Regions from separate parts of the Homo sapiens genome. Here regions 1, 2, 4, 5, 6 and 7 are each linked to region 3. Evidence: promoter capture Hi-C in 16 types of primary human blood cells and fetal thymus (Javierre and others, 2016). All regions are on one chromosome and are shown on one strand. Each heading gives the region's core, a stretch centred on a gene start or on the middle of the fragment in contact. The rest is flanking DNA. Distances are from core to core; before and after follow the strand shown. Region 1 has its middle 180 kb from the start of LINC00562. Region 2 has its middle 150 kb from the start of LINC00562. Region 3 holds the start of HTR2A (5-hydroxytryptamine receptor 2A). Region 4 has its middle 310 kb from the start of LINC00562. Region 5 has its middle 130 kb from the start of LINC00562. Region 6 has its middle 270 kb from the start of LINC00562. Region 7 has its middle 220 kb from the start of LINC00562.

Region 1 (2,720 bases), core at 47-2,546, 850 kb after region 3:
CAGTGATAGCTCAGTGTGCCAGATAATAGGCCACTGCCTCTCAGTGCCAAACCCACCCTCTGTACTCTCCCCTGTGATTCTCCTGCCAGCTTCTCCTTGTCAGGTGCTGCCGACAGGAGAATTAAACAGAGATTGCAAGGCTAGAGGAGGTAGAAGAGATTTGCTCCTTCCTCCTTGCTTCCTGTGTCACCCTGCTTTCCTTCTCTACACCAGCAGGTGCAGCTCCTTCCCAGAGCATCAACGGAACCAGTGCATTTTCCCGGTACTTGTGCATCTAGCCCCATTGTATGCCATCAGAAATACCGGCCAACCAGTGTCCCTGCCTTAGAAGCCAGGAAACCTACTCTCAGCTCAGAGAAACAAGTACCTGCTAAGCAATGGCTCCTTCTCAGAATTCTCGGTTTCAGCTCCGTGAGATCTCTCTTCCATGTTTCTAAGGTTTTCCAATTCCCACCTTTTCTCCTTGTTCTCCCAGCCCCAACAGTGGTAGCTACTTCCTGCATTTGATCCCTCCACAATAACTTCATTCATTTTGCCTTTCATTTCTTAGTTAACCGTTCTTTACATTAAATTCTCTCTTTTAAAACAAAACAAGTGGTGGTCTCTGTCTCCTGACTGTGTCCTGACTGCTACGTTCATAATGTAATTGTCCAAAAGAACAAGGAGATATGTGTAATGGAGGCTGTTGCTCAGAGTCTGGAAATTAGGTAAAGTCACAGGAAAATATTAGGGTGCCCTTACCAGTGCTTGGAGTCATTTAAGGTTGTACAACAAAATTATCAGTCATGAAATGGGGAACTATTATAAGCTGAATGCTTTGAATGTGAAAAGATAAATCTATTAGTGCTGTGGGTCTTTAAAGATCAAATCAGATGCACAGGGAAACACTGACTACCTTCAGAGCACCCTAGAGATGGATAAAGGGAGATGAGGGGTCCCACTTATGAAGAGGGCATGCGGGAAGTACTGGAGAACAGGCTATCCTGATACTTACAACCCTTTAACCAGATACAAACTCCGCTAAGGTGTCACTCTGACATTAAAATTAGGAATCTTCTATCTTGTGCTGAAAAGGGAAACCTTTGTGTTCATTCTCCCCGGGCATGAGAGATATATGAAAAGTAATCCTGTGTCACCTTGCTGTCTATGACAGAAATATTAGCTACATCCTCAATTAATAGCAAAGATTTTCATCAAGTGAAGGCAATACTGTCCCAAACTGGCAGGTATAGATTAAAGGAAAAAATAAGTCCAGAAGTCTGTTTTAGAAGGAAACTGTTATATGATTTTTTAAATGCCATCTGAGCAGAGAAAACACATTAAAAGTGGGGTGCAGAGGGTCACATATAAAACCGACTGGTTTTGACCCCAAACCATCTAGTGTATTTCTTGTAGAAATACTAATAAAGAACTTTTCTAGTTCTCTCTCTCTCTGTCTCTCTCCCTATCTCTCTCTCTGTCTCTCTCCTGCCCCCCCCACCCCTCCCTGCCTGTCTCACCATGGGTCGCCTAAGCACAGACACATCCATCTATCTGATTCACGGGGTAGTGGGAAGAGATAGTCTGCCTTTTCTGTTTCAACCCCAGCTACTTTGTTCTTTTTATCGTTTTTATTCCTTAGATATGACTATGATTTACATGCATATTTCTTAAATATATTCTGGGGGGTTAAAAAGACATCACTGCCAGAGCTACAAATTAGACTACCCAAGGCCATCTCCCCTTTACCCATTATATAAAGAAAGGAACAAGAAACATGGTTACAGAGTCACTGACGTGAATCCAGAAGTCAAATTTTAAAAAAAAAAAAAAAACAAAAAAGGAGTTTAATATGAGTTGGAAATAACAGAATATTAAATCAACCATAATAGCATGGATTACAAAATTTTAAGTATATACACAGTAAGTTCTAGAGAAGAACTACTATAATTGAAATTTTATTATACGAGTACTTATTTCAAAATTGCTGGGTTGAAACTAAATTAGCTCTTCCATATGGTTAAGTGGTTGTTTTTAGTTTGGGGTGAAATTTTGTTACAAGGCTAAGTATGAAATCTGTTTCCATAAATTTGCTTTAATTGCCTGCGTCTCCTAACCAAGAAGGAATATAAAGAACTGGGGCTATAAAGTGATAGTTTACCACCACCAAGACTTTAAGAAAATGTTACCAAATATTACAAGTTTAATAAAAGTCTTAACTATTGGAAATGTGAGGTGTTCTCAGAAAACTCAGTTCTTTATCTGGGCTAAAATCCAGGATCAGAGCACTAGCCCTCCACCACCCACAACACATAAAGGGCATAAAATCAGGGCAGAGGTAGCAAGACTCTACCCTGTGCTCATTCTCAGAGGGAGGAAACATGTACAGAAATTAAGGGCATGGGCCGGTCGCAGTGGCTCACGCCTGTAATCCCACCACTTTGGGAGGCCAAGGCGGGTGGATCACGAGGTCAAGAGATTGAGACCATCCTGGCCAACATGGTGAAACCCCCTCTCTACTAAAAATACAAAAATTAGGTAGGCATTGTGGCACACGCCTATAATCCCAGCTACTCGAGAGGCTGAGGCAGGAGAATCACTAGAACCCAGGAGGTAGAGGCTGCAGTGAGCCAAGATTGCACCACTGCACTCCAGCCTGGGCAACAGAGTGAGACTCCATCTCAAAAAGAAAAGAAAAAAGAAATTAAGAGCATGGTCTTTGAGGCAGGCAAACTGAGTTG
Region 2 (2,902 bases), core at 401-2,900, 880 kb after region 3:
GAAATTCAAGTTTAACTGGACATCAATCACTTCTTGGCCCTTTGGCTAAGATCTAGTGCAAATTCAGCTGGGTGTCCTGTGTTTTATTTGCTCAACCCAGCCATTGGAATTGGGAGGAACAGCAAAGCAGAAAGAGCTGGAGGCAGATGAACAGCGGAAAATGGACAAAATTGAAGGTAGCTGGACTTGAGCCAGCTTGCAGATGCCCACGCAAGATCCTGCTGGCAGGTGGATCCCAACAATGAGAACCTGTAGAGTGGATTGTCTGGGATGAAGACTCTATAGAGGAATCAGAAAAGATCAGGAACCTGCGGGGAAGCTCCAAAGCGTTCTACAAAGAACCCACTCACACATATGTCCTGAAAGAGGGGAATGCTTGTCCAAGAGACATTTACTCAAAGCCAGAGAAGCAAAGTAACAGCAGAAAAATGATGAAGATGTCAGACAAGAAACACTGTGTCTTTCCATATCCCTCCACAGCTCCTACCAAAGGAGACAGAAACCCAAAAGAGCAGAGGTGGAGGAAGAAATGAAAGGGCAGGTTCTGCAAGTCTCCTGACCACAGACAGAAAGGGGAAAGGAGGATGATAGAAAATAATCATTAAATTGGATGTCCAGTTGAAATTTTAAGCTGGGTCAGTACATTCATTATTGATATAGGTTGGATGTTTGTCCCTTCCAAATCTCATGTTGAAATGTGATTCCCAGTGTTGGAGGTAGGGCCTGGTGGGAGGTGACTGGATCATAGGGGTGGATCCCTCATGAATAGTTTAGCTCCATCCCCTTGGGGATAAGTAAGTTCTTGCTGTTAGTTCTAGAAAGATCTAGTTGTCTAAAAGTCTGGGACCTCTCCTTTCTCTCCCTCTTGTTCCCTCTGTCACTATATGACATACTGGTTCCCCTTCTCCTTCCACCATAATTGGAAGCTTCCTGAGGTTATCACCAGGAGCAGATGCTGGCACCACACTTCCTGTACAGCCTGCAGAACCATGATCCAAAACAAACTCTTCTTTCTTATAAATTACCCAGCCTCAGGTATTTCTTTATAGCAATACCAGAATGGACTAACACAGTTTGGTCTCTTATAAGAGATGTAGTGGCTTAAAACCACACACATTTACTCTGTTTCTATGGGTCAGGAATCTGGGTACAACTTAGCTGGGTGTTCTGCTTCAGGCTGCAATCAGGATGCTAGCTGGGGTTACAGTAATCTCAGGGCTCCACTGGGAAGAATCCACTTCCAAGCTCATTCATGTGGTTGTTGGCAGGATTCCATTACTTATGAGCTCTTAGACTGAGGGCCTCAGTATCTCCCTTCCTGTTGGCCAGAGGTGACCCTGAGTTCCCTGCCATATGGGCCTCTCCAACATGAGGGTCATTCCAGAAGCTGCCTCCCACAGACTGCATTAACAGAATAACTGAAAGTGATCTGAGGGCTATGGTGCTACCCAAAATGTCATTTATGGCTGGAGAAAGAAGCCTGAACAAAGCACAGGTGAAAAAGGCATTGGAGAAAAACATTCAAACATTTACATTTATATCCATCAAGTTCAAACAGTTCTATAAATTGGATAAAAGCATTTACCTTCTTAAAGGAGGCATCAATTGAGTAGTAAGGAAGGGAGACAGTGTGGTCATAGAGGGATCTCCTGAACTCATTCTTTTTTTTTTTTAACTTTTTTTTAAATTATACTTTAGGTTTTGGGATTCATGTGCAGAACGTGCAGGTTTGTTACATAGGTATACACGTGCCATGGCAGTTTGCTGCACCCATCAACCCGTCATCTACATTAGGTATTTCTCCTAATGCTACCCCTCCCCTAGCCACCCCCACCCAACCCGTGTGTGATGTTCCCCTCCCTGTGTCCATGTGTTCTCATTGTTCAACTCTTACTTATGAGTGAGAACAGGTGGTGTTTGGTTTTCTGTTCTTGCATTAGTTTGCTGAGAATGATGGTTCCCAGCTTCATCCATATCCCTGCAAAGGACATGAACTCATTCTTTTTTATGGCTGCATAGTACTCCATGGTGTATATGTGCCACATTTTCTTTATCCAGTCTATCATTGATGGACATTTGGGTTGGTTCCAAATCTTTGCTGTTGTGAACAATGCTGCAATAAACATACGTGTGCATGTGTCTTTATAGTAGAATGATTTATAATCCTTTGGGTATATATCCAGTAATGGGATTGTTGGGCCAAATGGTATTTCTGGTTCTAGATCCTTGAGGAATCACCACACTGTCTTCCACAATTGTCAAACTAATTTACACCGACAACAAAAAAAGAAAAATTCAGGCCAATATCCCTGATGAGCATTGATGTGAAAATCCTCAATAAAATACTGGCAAACCAAATCCAGCAGCACATCAAAAAGCTTATCCACCACAATCAAGTCAGCTTCATCCCTGGGATGCAAGGCTGGTTCAACATACACAAATCAATAAACATAATCCATCACATAAACAGAACCAATGACAAAAACCACACAATTACCTCAATAGATGCAGAAAAGGCCTTCGATAAAATTCAACACCCCTTCATACTAAAAACTCTCAATAAAGTAGGTATTGATGGAACTCATTCTTTGGAGACCATGAGAACCAGATTTGAAGCCAAGCCTCACCACAGCAAGTACCCTTGGGTTAATTAACACCTTTGAAATGCAATCTTCTTCTCAGTGATCAGGATTGGATGAGCATAGTAGATGATGTATATGTTTGTGTGGGGTGTTTAGCTTATACATAGTGGCTATTAATATCATTATCCTTATGTAGTCCTCTAAAGCAGTGGTCCCCAAACTTTTTGGCATCAGGGACTGGTTTCATGGAAGATAATTTTTCTATGGACTGTGGTGGTCGTTAGGTTCAGGATGAAACTATTCTACCTCAGATCATCAGA
Region 3 (2,985 bases), core at 359-2,858:
ATGCTCTTTATTACCAGTGCGAATATAGCTGGGAAACTAATGCCACTCACCATACAGGATGGTTAACATGGACACGGGCATGACAAGGAAACCCAGCAGCATATCAGCTATGGCAAGTGACATCAGGAAATAGTTGGTGGCATTCTGCAGCTTTTTCTCTAGGGACACTGCCATGATGACGAGTATGTTTCCAGCAATAGTTAGAATAATCACTACGGCTGTCAGTAAAGCAGACCAGTTTTTTTCCTGGAGATGAAGTAAGGAGAGACACGACGGTGAGAGGCACCCTTCACAGGAAAGGTTGGTTCGATTTTCAGAGTCGACTGTCCAGTTAAATGCATCAGAAGTGTTAGCTTCTCCGGAGTTAAAGTCATTACTGTAGAGCCTGGTGTCATCATTTAATTGCATTAGGGAGTTCGTAGTTGAGCTCAAAGAAGTATTTTCTTCACAAAGAATATCCATGTCTAAGCCAGAACTTGTAGCAGATGAGGTGTAGAAGGACTAACAGGTTATAGTTTCTGCTCACCATTCACCTTGATGTACCCACACTCTGTAACACTGAGGCTGGTGTACATGCTGTTCTCCCGGGGCTGGATTTTTGTCTTCCATTATTACAATGATAGTTAAAGAACTGAACTGTGGTGGCTGTAAGTTTTCTTCATTCACAATTTTAGGAGAGTCCACTGTTTGGTTTTATTATTTTCTCACCAAACCGAGGACAAAAAAGCAGAATGAACTTTTAGCATAGAGGTTGCAGGGTTTTTTTTGAGCGCTCGGGAAGATAAATGTCCTGGACAAAGAAGAAAAGTTTTATAACTACTGGGACTCTTGTTTAACTATATCTCATTTTGTTGGTTATGCCGATGGTACTAGTTTAGCAACAGTATTATTAAAATAGCATGCAATCAGAAACAGTGGGGATGTACACATTCTACATTAAGAAAGTCAATTAAAAATACATCCAGTGTTAATCCCATAGTAATTGGATGTACTTTGGGTTACAGTTCTCAGCCATTCTTAAGCTGAATTGCCACAGCTGCTGTCAGGAATTTCAGCTCCTATAATGTTGCTTAGCTAATAAAAGGAAAACAAAAAAGTCTTAAGTAAAGATTAGCAGACAACTTTCCTCCCTGGAAATTCTCATTGAAATGATTACATGTTGGCCAAGCATGATTTCAAACCGGAAAGAAAATTACACAGCAATAAAATATAGCGGCATGAGAACTTACATTTGTCTTCAGGGTCCACACATGAGATACATTTGTTATTCTGTGACTCGCTGCATCTCTCACAGTAATTAAACTGGTGTAGAGTCCCCTCTTCTTGATCTTCCACCAGCATAATATGATAGTAATTTGGTTTCTGTTTTGCTGACTTCAAAAACTGCATGCAAGAGCTGAGCCAGCTCCCGCACTGCTAGGATCCTGTTGGCTTCCTCTGGCACGGCTCGGCTGGGTTCCTCCCTCCCTGTGCGGCTCGCCTCAGCAGGCACACATTTAGAAATCATTCACGAGCCCCTCAAAGTCGCACAAAAGAACTGCATGGGAAAGTAGGAAGAGCTGTCTGCACCAAGGGACTCCTGGTTTCCACGGGAATGGAGTAGCTCTCTGACTGTCTCGTTCATTTCATCAGACCTCCCTCTATGTGTATGTCATAAGCTGCAAGGTAGCAACAGCCAGGAGGGCGGACCAAACAGGCTTTTTCTTCTCCCTCTTTTTGCTACATATTAATATTGGGAAGTTTTCCTTTGCTTTTGAGAGAAACTGGAGAAATGGCCTTTTGTGCAGATTCCCATTAAGGTAGGTAAGTGGCACTGTGGTAATTTTTTAGGCTGAAGGGTGAAGAGAGAACATAAATAAGGCTAGAAAACAGTATGTCCTCGGAGTGCTGTGAGTGTCCGGCACTTCCATCCAAAGCCAACAGTGTTTGTGTCCAGAGTGGAATTACTGACATTGGCCACATAGGCTCAGGGTGGCTAGGCACGTCTGTGGTGATAACTCTGATAAACTATTAGCACTATTTTTATTTAATAGATACACCATTGAACTGGCTTATTTTCTTCAGCAGAAATATGCCACCCAGATATTATTCAAAACCTCACATGTGGTAGGAAATAAGTTGGTTTCGCAGTACCAATTTTTTTCCCCCACCAGTAATGACAACTTGCCTTACTTGTAAAGAAAGCCCTTTCCCAAGTAGGTTTCTAAAGGAGGCAGTTCGATCTCTCTCTTTTTGCAGGCATGAAAATATTTTCCTCAATAGTTGGGTTTTGCTACAGTTCTATCACCTTCTGTTCTTCACATTCTCCCTGGACAAATTCAACCACTCTCATGCCTTCAATATGTTTGTGGCCAAGTCTGTACCTTCATAGCTGATTATTTCTCTCAGTTCCAGACCTAAATCTCTAGCTGCCCATTGGCTCCTTCCATGGTAGCCTGGGAGACCTTGACCTCAGCATCTTCCCTCACTCCGCATCCCCCTGCCCGGCTCTCAGTGCTTGTTCCTACCCATTGGCTTGCATGATGGAATCACCACCTCTTCAGACAGCTGCTGTTATCCGCGACTCTTCCTTCATTCTCGCTGCCAGATCCCACTTCGTCTCCGGTGCTACCTCTGTATGCGTGTTTCTCACATGTCCTCTCCTGCAGCCTGCAGCTGGCACCCTGTGGTCGAGATCTAGCCACCTATTTCCTGGGTGGGTGCCTTAGTGCCCCCCTCACTGCCATGCCTGCCACCCTCCTACCCCTCCACGTTAAATATGCACGCTGGCGAGCAGGCAGCGGAGAACACAGACCTTAGAGTTCCTTGGTTTTGGATCCTAGCTCTATCACTCATAAACAGTAGAACCTCGCCTCATCTAGTTGCTCCCTTTAAAGCTCAGTCTTCTCACTTGTAAAATGGGATAATACCTTCCTCATAAGATTGTAGTGAAGCTAAACTGAGATAATGTGTGTAAGTATTTGGCCCATGTCTGGCTTATAGGAG
Region 4 (3,076 bases), core at 171-2,670, 730 kb after region 3:
AAAGATATGTAGAGTAAGGCTCAGGGTGGTCAAAACAAGGTAAAAGGGACCTTGAACGTGTTTCAAAGGCAGAGGTTTACTTACCTAGGGTGGAATTTAAAGTGTTAGCAACACAATTCTCTCATTTGAGTTTTACCCAAATTTCTTTAAAGAATTATTTATGCATTCTGTCTTCATTTTTCTAACCTTTTACTCATATTTTACTTTTACCTTCATCATTTCACTGACATCTTTTGGCAAAGTCAACAATGACTTCCATGCCACTTAAGCTCATGGACAATTTTTGTTTATCTTACATTACCTCTTGGTAACACTTGATCCTGCTGACCAGGCACTTCTTCCTACAACATTCTCTAGCTTTGCCCTGTGACACAGCCCTGTCCTCTGGCCACTTGTTTTCTGTACTCTTCACAACATGCTCTTCCTCCAGTCTATTGGCCAGTAAATGTTAGAGTTTCCGAGGTTCATTTTTAGATCTTTTTCTCTTCTTCCTCTCTACCGTCTTAATAGGTCATTTTATTCACGTGTGTGATCTCACTCAAGATTATCTACAAAGATAACTCAGAGCTCCCTAAATATCTCTAACCTGTATTTCTCTCCTGAGCTCTTGACTACTTAACATCTGTACTTGTATATTGAAAACACACCTCAATTTCAACATGTCTAGAAGTGAATTTGTGATCTTCCCCAAACCTGTTTCTCAAATCATTCCCATCTCAGTGATAGTATCACTGTTGTCTTGTGCATGTCTCAAATAATGAGTTTGCTTTTTTACCTGCCTCTCCCTTACTCCCAATAACTAATCCATCAACAAATTCAGCCGCTTTCCCTCCTCTATATCTTCTGAATCTATCCTCTTCTGTCCATCAACAGCTAGAAGATCCCCTCCCTTGTCTTCTCTTGCCTCCTTTGATCTATTTCTCCTATTATAGTGACCTTTCCAATACAGAAATCTGATCATGTCACTCTTCAGATTTAAATGCTCCAATGGCTTTACATTGTTTTTAAGATAGAAATCTTTAATATACATTATAGGGGCTGCATTACCTTGGCTCTTTATTTTTTTCTATACTATTTTTCACCACATTAGTCACTATTCTGTTTTCCAGCCACAGTGGTCACATTTCAGGTCTTACAATGATCCATACTCTTCTTCCACAGGGCCTTTGCATAGGCTGTCTCCTCTGCCAGGAACATTCTTCTCATCCCCCAGTGTTATATCTATTAACTCCTCTAATTCTTGCAAATCCTCAGCTCAATCATCTTTTACTTAGGAAAGATTTCCTGGATCTTTCGTCTCATTTTTAATTTTACAAATATGTGTTCTTTTCCTAATATTGATTTAACCCACTAAACAGTAATTTCCAAGGAAAAAGAAACATGACTGCTTTGTTAACTGCTCCATGCACATCACAATTCCTTGAACATAGTGGATGCTCGATAAATACATGTTGACTAATGCAAGGAATAAACTCTCATGTCCAACAACTTGCTTCCCTTTCTGCAATCTGATAGTCCATCTCATACTATCAGTAGACAGTCCATCTTATATTAAGCCCTTTTTATGCTGTTGAACAATGAATCAGGGAGGAAGGGAAAGCAAGAATATATCCAGCATCTGAAGCTGAGATTAAAGATGTTAAGGTAATGCAGAATTAAAATCAGTCTAAAAGGGAAACACATTACAAAGAAAGAACCACACTGTCACAATCTGACCAGTGAGTAAGATGACATTTCTGGACGGTAATTGGGTGTCATCTTGGCAGTCTGAAATTGTAAAACAGACTCCTGAAGAAATCAAGGACTCACCACTGAGCCAGGGAATCCCATCATTAGCCTGATTATGAGGCATTTTATAGCCCCTTTTATTAAATAACACAGTGGTTTGTACAGCTGCAGAGCATCAGAACCATTTAGGAGCTTTTATTTTAAAGTACAGCTATCTGGACCACACTTCCTGACACTTAATTCAGTTAGCTTATGGTTGGGATCTGTAAGCCCAGGTCTGGAACAAGGTAGTTACAATAGGAGCTGGAACATCTTGCTATTCGGGAAAGTAAGGATATGTTGCTAACCACTTCTCGCCATACACACACACACACACACACAACGTGAGCATGTCAAAAAGACATAGGAGCCAGCTTGAAGAAGAGGGGTTCCCACGGCCAAAGCTGGAACAATAAATAAGATTAGATTATAACCCATTGAGTATAATAGGAATCTATGGGTCCATATGGATAACAGAGGTAGATGTAAATAGATGATGGATGAATAGAATATATAGATAATACATAGATATATAGGATACTGGCTTGTTCCTTATAGTAGAAAATCAACTGATAATGGTGGAGACTAGCTTGGGCAAGAATCAACAATGGTTGTTAAATCTTAGATGCAATGTTTAATGACAAGTAGGATATATGCACAATCTCACAGCATTTTCTCATAAATTATTTATAAGAGGAAAAATGGTAACTATACAGTGGAGAAACTGGATAAAACCTTTACCGGGTGATCAAAATTAAAACTACCAAGAGGCAGATAGGTATTGTGGCACCTCTGGATGTGAAGCCCTGCAAAAGACATACGTCACTTTTGTAGTGTTCTGGTAAGGGATACATAACCTAAATTTAATTATGAGGTAACACTAAATGAACCCAAAGCAAGGATCATTCTATAAATAACTGACCTCTATTGTTTTAAAGTATCAATGCAACAAAAGACAAAAAAAGACAATATTCCTTTAACAGAGATTAAGGAAATATGAAAATTAAATGCAATACATAATCCTAGACTAGAGCTTGGACTGGAAGAAAAATTATTATATAAAGACATTACTAACAAAATGGACAAAATTGGAATATAAATTATATAGACAAATAAAAATAGCAATGTTAAGTTCTTGAAACTTAATAACTGTACGATGATAAAAGAATATCCTTGATTGAAGGAAATATAAAAAACATTAAAAATTATTAAATCTTAATAAAAAGGATATAGGAGCTCTCTGTATTAATATTGCAATTTTCTGCAGATTTAAAAATTATTTCAAAGTAAAACTGTTTTTCATTTAATA
Region 5 (3,038 bases), core at 267-2,766, 910 kb after region 3:
TATCCAGAATCTACTAAGAACTTAGACAAATTTACAAGAAAAAAACAACCCCATCAAAAGGTGGGCAAAGGATATGAACAGGCACTTCTCAAAAGAAGACATTTATGCAGCCAACAAACATGAAAAAAAGCTCATCATCACTAGTCATTAGAGAAATGCAAATCAAAACCACGATGAGATACCATCTCGCACCAGTTAGAATGGCGATCATTAAAAAGTCAGGAAACAACAGATGCTGGAGAGGATGTGGAGAAATAGGAAGCTTTTACACTGTTAGTGGGGGTGTAAATTAGTTCAACCATTGTGGAAGACAGTGTGGCAATTCCTCAAGGAACTAGAACTAGAAATACCATTTGACCCAGCAATCCCATTACTGGGTATACACCCAAAGGATTATAAATCATTCTACTATAAAGGCACATGCACACATATGTTTATTGTGGCACTATTCACAACAGTGAAGACTTGGAACCAACCCAAATGTCCATCAATAATAGACTGGATAAAGAAAATGTGGCACATATACACCATGGAATACTATGCTGCCATAAAAAACAATGAGTTCATTTCCTTTGCAGGGACATGGATGAAACTGGAAGCCATCATTCTCAGCAAAGTATCACACAGGAACAGAAAACCAAATACCGCATGTCCTCACTCATAAGTGGGAGTTGAACAATGAGAACACATGGACACACAGAGGGGAACATCAGACACCAGGGCCTGTCGGGGGGTGGGGGGCTAGAGGAGGGATAGCATTAGGAGAAATACCTAATATAGGTGATGGGTTGATGGGTGCAGCAAACCACCATGGCACTGTATACCTATGTAACAAAACTGAACGTTCTGCATATGTTCCTCAGAACTTAAAGTATAATAAATATACATATTTTTAAAAACACAAAATAATAAAAATAATAAAAATTTTAAAAAGAAGCCAAAGTGGAAAATCAAGCCTTTAAACTTTTTCATTTGTAAAATACTTCATATTTTCAAAATACCTTCACACCATTATCACATTTTATCTTAATAACATCTCTATGATAGGTAGATGCTCATTGTTCAGAAAAAAAGAGGGGAAATGAGGTTTGCTAATAGACCAATAAGCTTTGCAAACTCCCTCCTTTGAAGCGGGTCAAGGTGAAAGCATGCAGGGGTATTTCCTACATAATAAGGATGATCACCCTCATTATATCAGCCTGAGGTCATTGTTGAGCCACTACACATAAAAACCTATTTCATAGCTACTTTCCTCCTCACCAAACAGCAAGTAGAACACATGAGACTCTGATTCACTCTTCAGAATCCTTCAGAAAGGATTTCTGATTTCCTTCAGAAAGGAAAAGATATTGTCTATTCTCTAATATTTCATTTTCAGTAGCATCACTGTTTATGTGTGACAGTCTACTTCTTCACAGTGATTTCCCATTTTTCCTGCTTTATCCTTCGTCTTCAACTTTAGGCAGACCATCTCAAAGCTCAAGAGAACCCTGGGTGATTTCTAGTTTTTTAGGCTCCCAGAAAAATGAAATACAAAGAGAACCAAAATAGAATTGCAAATTTATGATTTAAAAAGTAATACTTTTAAGCAAATATGCATATAAAAAGACACTCAACATCATATGTCATTAGGGAATTTAAAATAAAACAACAATGAGATACCATTACACACCTATTGGAATGGCCAACATCCAAAACACTGACAACACCAACTGCTGGCAAGGATGAGCAACAAGAACTCTCATTCATTCATTCTAATTCTGGTGAGAATCCAAAATGATACAGCCACTTTGGAAGAAAGTTTGGCAATTTCTTACAAAATGAATGTACTTTTACCACATAATCCAGCAATCATGCTCCTTGATATTTACTTAGATGAGATAGAAATTTATTTCCACACAAAAATCTCTACATCGATGTTTATAGAAGCTTTATTCATAATGGCCAAAACTTGAAAATAATCAAAATGTCTTTCAGTAGGTGAGTGGTTAAATAAACTGTGATACATCCATACAATGAAATACTATTGGGTGCTAAGAAGAAATTAGCTATTAAGCCATGAAAAGACACGGAGGACACTTAAATGCATATTACTAAGTAGAAGAAACAAATCTGAAAAACTATGTGATTCCAATTCTAAGACATTTTGGAAAAGGTAAAACTACAGAGAGGTAAAATGATCAGTGATTGCCAGGGGCTTAAGGGGAAAGAGGGAGAGAGAGGTGGAACATGGAGGATTTTTAGGGCAGCAAAATGACTCTGCATGATACTATAATATTGGATACATATAATTGTACATTTGCCAAAACCCGTACAGTGTACAACTCTAAGAGTAAATTCTAATGCACACTATGGATTATGGGTGATAATGACATGTCATTGTAGATTCACCGATTGTAACCAGTCTTGTGGGGGGTGTTGATAATGGAGAAAACTATGCATGTGTCGGGGCAGGGAATATGGAAACTCTGTGTACTCTCCACACAATTTTGCTGTGAATCTAAAACTGATCTGAAAAATAATCTATTCAAAAAATTAATGCTTATAACATGTACATACACACACACAAAAATACAAATGTATGTATAACTCCATTGAGAGATAACATCAAAGCTCTTAATTTGAGGCCCATAGCAATTAGTATTGGTAGTTGCAAACAATACTCTCTGGTTTAAACAGAAGGTAATTTATTAAAGGATATGGTTAGCTTGCAGAATTTCTAGAGAAACCAAAGAATTCCATCTAAATGGTGCATATCTTGAAACCATCCACAAGCAATAATCACAGGAAAGACTAGCCACCTTGGCCACCGGCCACTTGTCCCAGAACACACATGGGACTGGATGCCAAAACTCTGCCACAGGAGCCCCAGAAGAACCAGATACCTCCACCATCGCTTACCAGATGGTCAGTCTTCCCACAGCTGCCTCCTTATGTTACTTCTCTATCCAAGTCTTGCACGGATGTATCTGACTGGAAGTACCTGAATCGCATTCTTCCAAATAGCCTAGAACAAAAATTTTTTAATCTATCATGAA
Region 6 (2,767 bases), core at 24-2,523, 760 kb after region 3:
TATTTATGTCTTCTATGCAGTTATTCAAATGTGTAATTTTTAAATTGTATTTAATTGTTATTCTGACTCTTCCAATAAGCTTTATGAAAGCAGGGATCATGTCTGTCTGTGTATCCAACTCCACTACGTAGAATTGTGCCATATACATTGTAGAGGTTTAGTAACTTAACAAGTATGTATTTTTAATTCTCTGTAAACACAAGCACATATGACATAAAGGGATTTAAGCAAATCTGCTTACACAGTGCTTACCAACAAAAGTTCTTGACATTAATACATCAACTAAGCCAATTGTAATAAAATAGGAGATCAAAATGAAATAAAGCATAGAACTGGCAGGAAGCAAATTAAGACACTTTATCCTTGGTACTCTAAAACAAACAATGGATTTAGAAGTTTTCTATTGCTGTGTAACAATATTACCACAAACTTAGCAGCTTAAAATGATACCCATTTATTATCTCACCATTTCAATGAATCGGGAGTATGAGAAAGGCTTAGCTGAGTCCTCTACTTCATATCATAAGGTTCCAGTCAAAATATCAGCCAGGGCTGCAGCCTCATCTGAGGACTGACTGGGGAAGGATCCATTTCGAAGCCTACATGGTGGTTGGCAGCATCAACTTCTTATAAGCTGTTGGACTGAGGACCTCAGTTTCCTAATCACATACAACCCATCACTCTTGTCATATTCTATTGGTTAAAGATCCTGGGTTAAAGATCCTGCCCACTTTCAAAGCAAGGGGACCACAATGGTTGGGGTATCAGGAGGCAGGGGTCGAGGAGGCACCCTGGAGTCTGCCTATCACAGATGGAACAGTTATAAGGAGCCTGGTTCATTTAATTTTTTTAACTTTTAAGTTCAGGGGTACATGTACAGGTTACATAGTTAAACATGTGTCATGGAGGTGTGTTGTACAGATTATTTCATCACCTGAGTATTAAGCCTAGTACCCATTAGTTATTTTTCCTGATCCTCTCCCTCATCCCAACTCCCAACCTCCAAAATGCCCCAGTGTGTGTTGTTTCTTTCTATGTATCCATGTGTTATCACTTAGCTCCCACTTGTAAGTGATAAAATGCAGTATTCAGTTTTCTGTTCTTGTTTAGTTTGCCAAGGATAATGGCCTCCAGCTTCATCCATGTCCCTGCAAAGGACATGATCTCATTCTTTTTTATGGCTGCAGAGTATTCTGTGGTGTATATGTACCACATTTTCTTTATCCAGTCTATTGTTGATGGGTATTTAGGTTGATTCCCTGTCTTTACTATTGTGAATAGTGCTGCAATAAACATACATGTGCCTGTGTCTTTATGATAGAATGATTTAGATTTCTTTGGATATATACACAGTAATGGAATTGCTGGGTCAAATGGTATTTCTATCTTTAGGTCTTTGAGGAATCACTACACTGTCTTCCATAATGGTTGAACTAATTTACTCTCCCACCAAAGGTTAATAAATAAAATATTTTCCGGTAAGAAAGAATATGTCCAGTCTCACTGGATTCCCCAGAGTTTCATGAATAAAATATTAAAATAACTCAGAAAAGTAGTCTAGGCATTCATATAGAAGAACGTTTAATAGCTCTTTACAGCAGGAAAATAAACCAAAAAAAAAGTGAAAATCTTCAGAGTTTTATCAAAGACAGATAAATAAATAAGTTATATAATGCAAATAGCATAAAAAGCAGCTAAAGATATTATATACGGAAGCTAAATGAAAGCCAATGGCATATGTGGGAGACTGTAACACAGTCCCATCCGTGCCACAATTTACTGTGGGTGAATCATACTTCCTTGCCCCCACTGGCTTTGGGCTTAGTCATGTGAGTTTAACTGATTGAATGTGCGTGGAGATGACAGTATGCCAGATGTGAGCAACGTCTGTGAGAGGTATTACAAGTTTTGGTTTGTTCCATTTGCATTCCTGCCATCCACCATGACAGTAACTCATCCCAGAGAAGATCCCAGAGTGAGAAGACATGGCAAGCATGGTGAAACCCAGCAGAGCCTTGGCCAACTCTCAGACTTACAAGTAATGAATATTTGTTGTCATAAGAGACTGAATTTTTGAATTGTTCATTATAAAATATGGTATCAGCAAAATGCTGACAACATAGTATAGAATTTTCCAAGTAATGGATCAATAAAATGAGAAGTAACTTAGCATATTCCCTACAATTAAAATGCTTGTTTCCAGATGAAAGTGTTTCTATGCATTTTATACCCCTCACTCTCATCTCTAACAACATAGTTTCTTCTTCCTGGAATGTCCTCTTTGGGGTTTTGGGGGGTTATTTAAAAACTGCTCCTTCCCCCAAAACCTGAATTTAGGATACAGTAGAAGTTTCAGAGAAATCAGCCAGAGACTAACAAATCCCTTTTATTCTCATTAATTTACTATCATTGTTGAAAAGAAAGGTTTATGTGTTACAGTCCAAGAGGCCTAAGATGAAGCCCAGATCTAAGCTTCCCACTCAAGCCCAGGGAGACATGGACTGATACAGCCTTTGCTTCTGAGGGTTTCTACCACTAACTTTAAAACATTGAAGAAAGCAGGCCTGAGCTGAGCTCCTTTTCCAAAGCCACTAGACTAATACATTACTCCTGCTCACATGGTGGGGAGAGACACCAAGAATGTTAGTCTAAGAAAATTTCTGGGAGAAAACAAGAGGGGAGAAAGTCTTTTGTGTTTTAGAAGCATTAATCTCTTAAGCTCCAGTATTTTCTCAACATCCTAATTACAAAACTTATTAGTGTTACC
Region 7 (2,955 bases), core at 340-2,839, 810 kb after region 3:
TTCATTCAGTCTTCGTTGTAAGGAGACAAGGTTCCTGTCATTTCTTCTGTCCTGAAGCTTTTTCTATTCCCATTGGCCAGCCCTGCCCCAGCAAATGAGCAGAGCTGAATGACAAATCAATGAGCTAAACAAGGAGATATACAGCAAATGAACAAAATGAGCAAGATGTATAACAATGGATTAAATGAACAAGAGGCAAGGCATGGTGTCTCACGCCTGTAATCCCAGCACTTTGGGAGGCCAAGGTGGGTGGATCACCTGAGGTCAGGAGTTCAAGGCCATCCTGACCAACATGGTGAAACCCCGTCTCTAGTAAAAGTACAAAAATTAGCTGGACACGTGTCATGCACCTGTAGTCCCAGCTACTCGGGAGGCTGAGGCTGGAGAATGGCTTGAACCTGGGAGGCAGAGTTTGCAGTGAGCTGAGATCATGCCACTGCACTCCAGCCTGGGTGACAGAGCAAGACTCCATCTCAAAAAGTAAATAAATAAATAAGATATATAATAAATGAATGAAATGATTGGGGGGTATATGGCAAATGAATGAAATGAATGGGGGTATATATATGAATTAAGGTAATCAGGAGCAGACAGTATTTGGAGGTCTCAGTGGGGGCAGAGAGCTGTACACAGGCTCAGGCAGGTCCCTGGGCTGCAGCTGAATACCAGTCAGCTCGAATAAAGGTAGGGTAAGCATTCAAAAGAGCAAAGTATTCCTGTGAATGAAAAATAAGCTAATTCCTAAAGGAGAGAAGGACATGTTAAACTGTTCGGTAGATGCTATTCCTGACTGTATTGATTTTATGTGTGGGTTTTTTTTTTTCTAACAATACTAGAGAAAGTGACCCCAAGATTCTCAGAATCAATCATGGCAAATCTCAATAGTGTTCTATTCCAGGAAGTGGTCTGACCCAACAAAGGTTTGTTTCACATGCAGACTCAATCGCCTAAAATTTATACCGCCCAAAGCACTGAGCCTCCTGTGATTCTGTCAGTGGTAATTTTCTTGAGTTGTATAAGCTTCATTATTAACAAATCCAAAGAGGAAGAAAAACAGGTGCAGGGTACATCTATCCTGTCACATTTCACAGACTGTGGGTTTAAATCACCCAGATGCTTACACATAATCACAAAACAGTATTTATAGCTGACTCCAAAGCATTCAAAGGCTGATGATCCAGTTTACAAATTCGACTACCCTGTTCCATCATTTTACCTACTTTCTTTTCATTTCAGTGCTTGTCATTATCCCCAAGTATTAGGTTGGCAAGAAGAAAAAAAAATAAAACTCAAACTAGTCTATTAAGAACTTAAGGTCTCAGTGAAGATGGCTGGTAAGGATTAATGCAATTGACTAAGATGACATTTTTGGATTATGTGTGTATTTCAATCATCTATGCTTTCCCCAGGCCAGTTCATGTCATGAAAATTGATATTCACTAGCATAGTCATGCCTTCCAGATCCTCCTTACCCTGAGAGTTTGTACGTAGGCTCTTCTCTACTTATAAGATGCAGACGTGGAGAAATGGCATGATTTAGGATTACAAAAAGATGGAATTATGCTAATCCCACACCAAAGCCAAGAAGAGCAGGAATGGATTCACACCCTGCTATTCCCATGACCTATGGACCATTGAAAACCACAACTCCTTCCCCAGTTTACTGAAATGTCTTGAAGGCTTTATAAAGGGGGCTTTTCAGGGACAGCATCTGGGAAATGTCACTCAAGGTGTGTCAACATCATCCTGCTCCCTGGGAGGGACAGCACATTTGTTCAATACAAATGCGTATTGTGTATTAAGAGACTTCGTCTTTCCTGTTTATTTCCTTGGCATTTTCCCAGGCAAGTGGGTCAGAGGGTGAACTTTAAAGTATGATTTGATTACTGACATTCTTGGATTTTTGGTTGTCAGGCATTGCTTAACTCTTGTTACCTCGTGCCCTCTGTGTCTGCAAAGTGGTGATTTAGTTCTGACTCACTTGATACACAGGGAAGATAAAAAGGATGATCACAAAACTGCCTTTCACTTAGCACTTACCAAGAATTTGCCATTTACAGCAACATATCAGGTTCTGTGTGGCTTATTACATGAGATGGTCACAACAAGGTACAACCAGGAAACACTTCTTTTTTCTCCCATTGCTGGTCTGCTACGTCAAAGCTTTCTGTTCCATCCCTGGACAAGAGCTCAGGCAGCTCCCACCACTTTCATTCACTTTAAGACTCACTCTTAGATATTGAAAGTCCAGTAGAGTCATATCAAAACACCAAGATCACATTTACAACTTTCTCCTCCCCTTTAACCCAGGCCTAGCCTGCAGGTCAGACAACTACAGTAGGTATAAGGGTGCCCAAACTGGTCTCTCATGTCTTTTCTGCCTTTCCTTCTCTATCTTCCTTCTCTCTCAGCCTCATAGAGCCAAAGGGGAAGAGGAGCAAACTACAGAAACTCCCCCTGAGATCACCCCAGCTGGACATCAGCCCTCAAGTGATGAAGACGTCCATACTTCCAAGGTTCCCCGCAGCTGTGTTGAGCTCTCAGACCTGGGCAAGGGGCTCTCTGGCCAGCCTCTTTCAATCTTGCTCTAATAAAGGCAGGAGGCAGACAAATGCCTAGGCAGCTAGGGAAGGGTCTCGGGTGAGACCCCCGCTTCAAGCTTAAAGCAGCCTGAAAGCTGAAAGACCAGAGTGCTGGTTCCGGATGAAACCTGCAACCCAGAGGGAAAACTTCTGCCCCTGTTTGTCCACCCTTTCCCAATTGATTCTTTCTGAATAAGGCCTTTCAACCAATCAAATGCTGCCTTTTCCAATACTATCTATGGCTTGCCAGGGCGTGCCTGCCTGAGCACTGGGGGAATGGGATGGAGCCACCAGGAATTCATGCCTTATGCAAGGGAGGAGTGGCCTCTTTAGCGCGTGTGTGGTAGCCCTGATATTCAATTAGGGAGGTGAA

Evidence for each region. The method cuts DNA at HindIII sites, captures the fragments that hold promoters and counts their contacts. A CHiCAGO score of 5 or more calls a contact.
Region 1: a contact is called between a fragment that was not itself captured here and the fragment with the promoter of HTR2A in region 3, in 2 of 17 cell types (M1 macrophages and M2 macrophages). The highest score is 6.1, in M1 macrophages.
Region 2: a contact is called between a fragment that was not itself captured here and the fragment with the promoter of HTR2A in region 3, in 7 of 17 cell types (naive B cells, megakaryocytes, total B cells and 4 more). The highest score is 9.8, in naive B cells.
Region 4: a contact is called between a fragment that was not itself captured here and the fragment with the promoter of HTR2A in region 3, in 1 of 17 cell types (M2 macrophages). The highest score is 5.3, in M2 macrophages.
Region 5: a fragment that was not itself captured here is called in contact with the fragment with the promoter of HTR2A in region 3 in 1 of 17 cell types (endothelial precursors); the score reaches 5.7 in endothelial precursors.
Region 6: a contact is called between a fragment that was not itself captured here and the fragment with the promoter of HTR2A in region 3, in 1 of 17 cell types (M2 macrophages). The highest score is 5.6, in M2 macrophages.
Region 7: a contact is called between a fragment that was not itself captured here and the fragment with the promoter of HTR2A in region 3, in 2 of 17 cell types (M1 macrophages and endothelial precursors). The highest score is 5.3, in M1 macrophages.

Annotation. Positions count from the first base shown.
Region 1 is chr13:47,747,877-47,750,596 of GRCh38, forward strand. No RefSeq gene overlaps it. Among named protein-coding and RNA genes, the nearest start is that of LINC00562, 180 kb to the right of the region's middle. The HindIII fragment of the contact is 4,454 bases long and covers 1-2,720 here.
Region 2 is chr13:47,776,769-47,779,670 of GRCh38, forward strand. No RefSeq gene overlaps it. Among named protein-coding and RNA genes, the nearest start is that of LINC00562, 150 kb to the right of the region's middle. The HindIII fragment of the contact is 1,452 bases long and covers 925-2,376 here.
Region 3 is chr13:46,895,445-46,898,429 of GRCh38, forward strand. HTR2A (5-hydroxytryptamine receptor 2A) reads right to left here and starts at 1,609. Exons shown (of 4, transcript NM_000621.5): 1 at 1,230-1,609; 2 at 51-790. The coding sequence starts at 462. The HindIII fragment of the contact is 5,377 bases long and covers 1-2,985 here.
Region 4 is chr13:47,623,739-47,626,814 of GRCh38, forward strand. No RefSeq gene overlaps it. Among named protein-coding and RNA genes, the nearest start is that of LINC00562, 310 kb to the right of the region's middle. The HindIII fragment of the contact is 3,753 bases long and covers 1-3,076 here.
Region 5 is chr13:47,804,493-47,807,530 of GRCh38, forward strand. No RefSeq gene overlaps it. Among named protein-coding and RNA genes, the nearest start is that of LINC00562, 130 kb to the right of the region's middle. The HindIII fragment of the contact is 822 bases long and covers 1,106-1,927 here.
Region 6 is chr13:47,659,438-47,662,204 of GRCh38, forward strand. No RefSeq gene overlaps it. Among named protein-coding and RNA genes, the nearest start is that of LINC00562, 270 kb to the right of the region's middle. The HindIII fragment of the contact is 2,393 bases long and covers 78-2,470 here.
Region 7 is chr13:47,706,704-47,709,658 of GRCh38, forward strand. No RefSeq gene overlaps it. Among named protein-coding and RNA genes, the nearest start is that of LINC00562, 220 kb to the right of the region's middle. The HindIII fragment of the contact is 1,143 bases long and covers 1,019-2,161 here.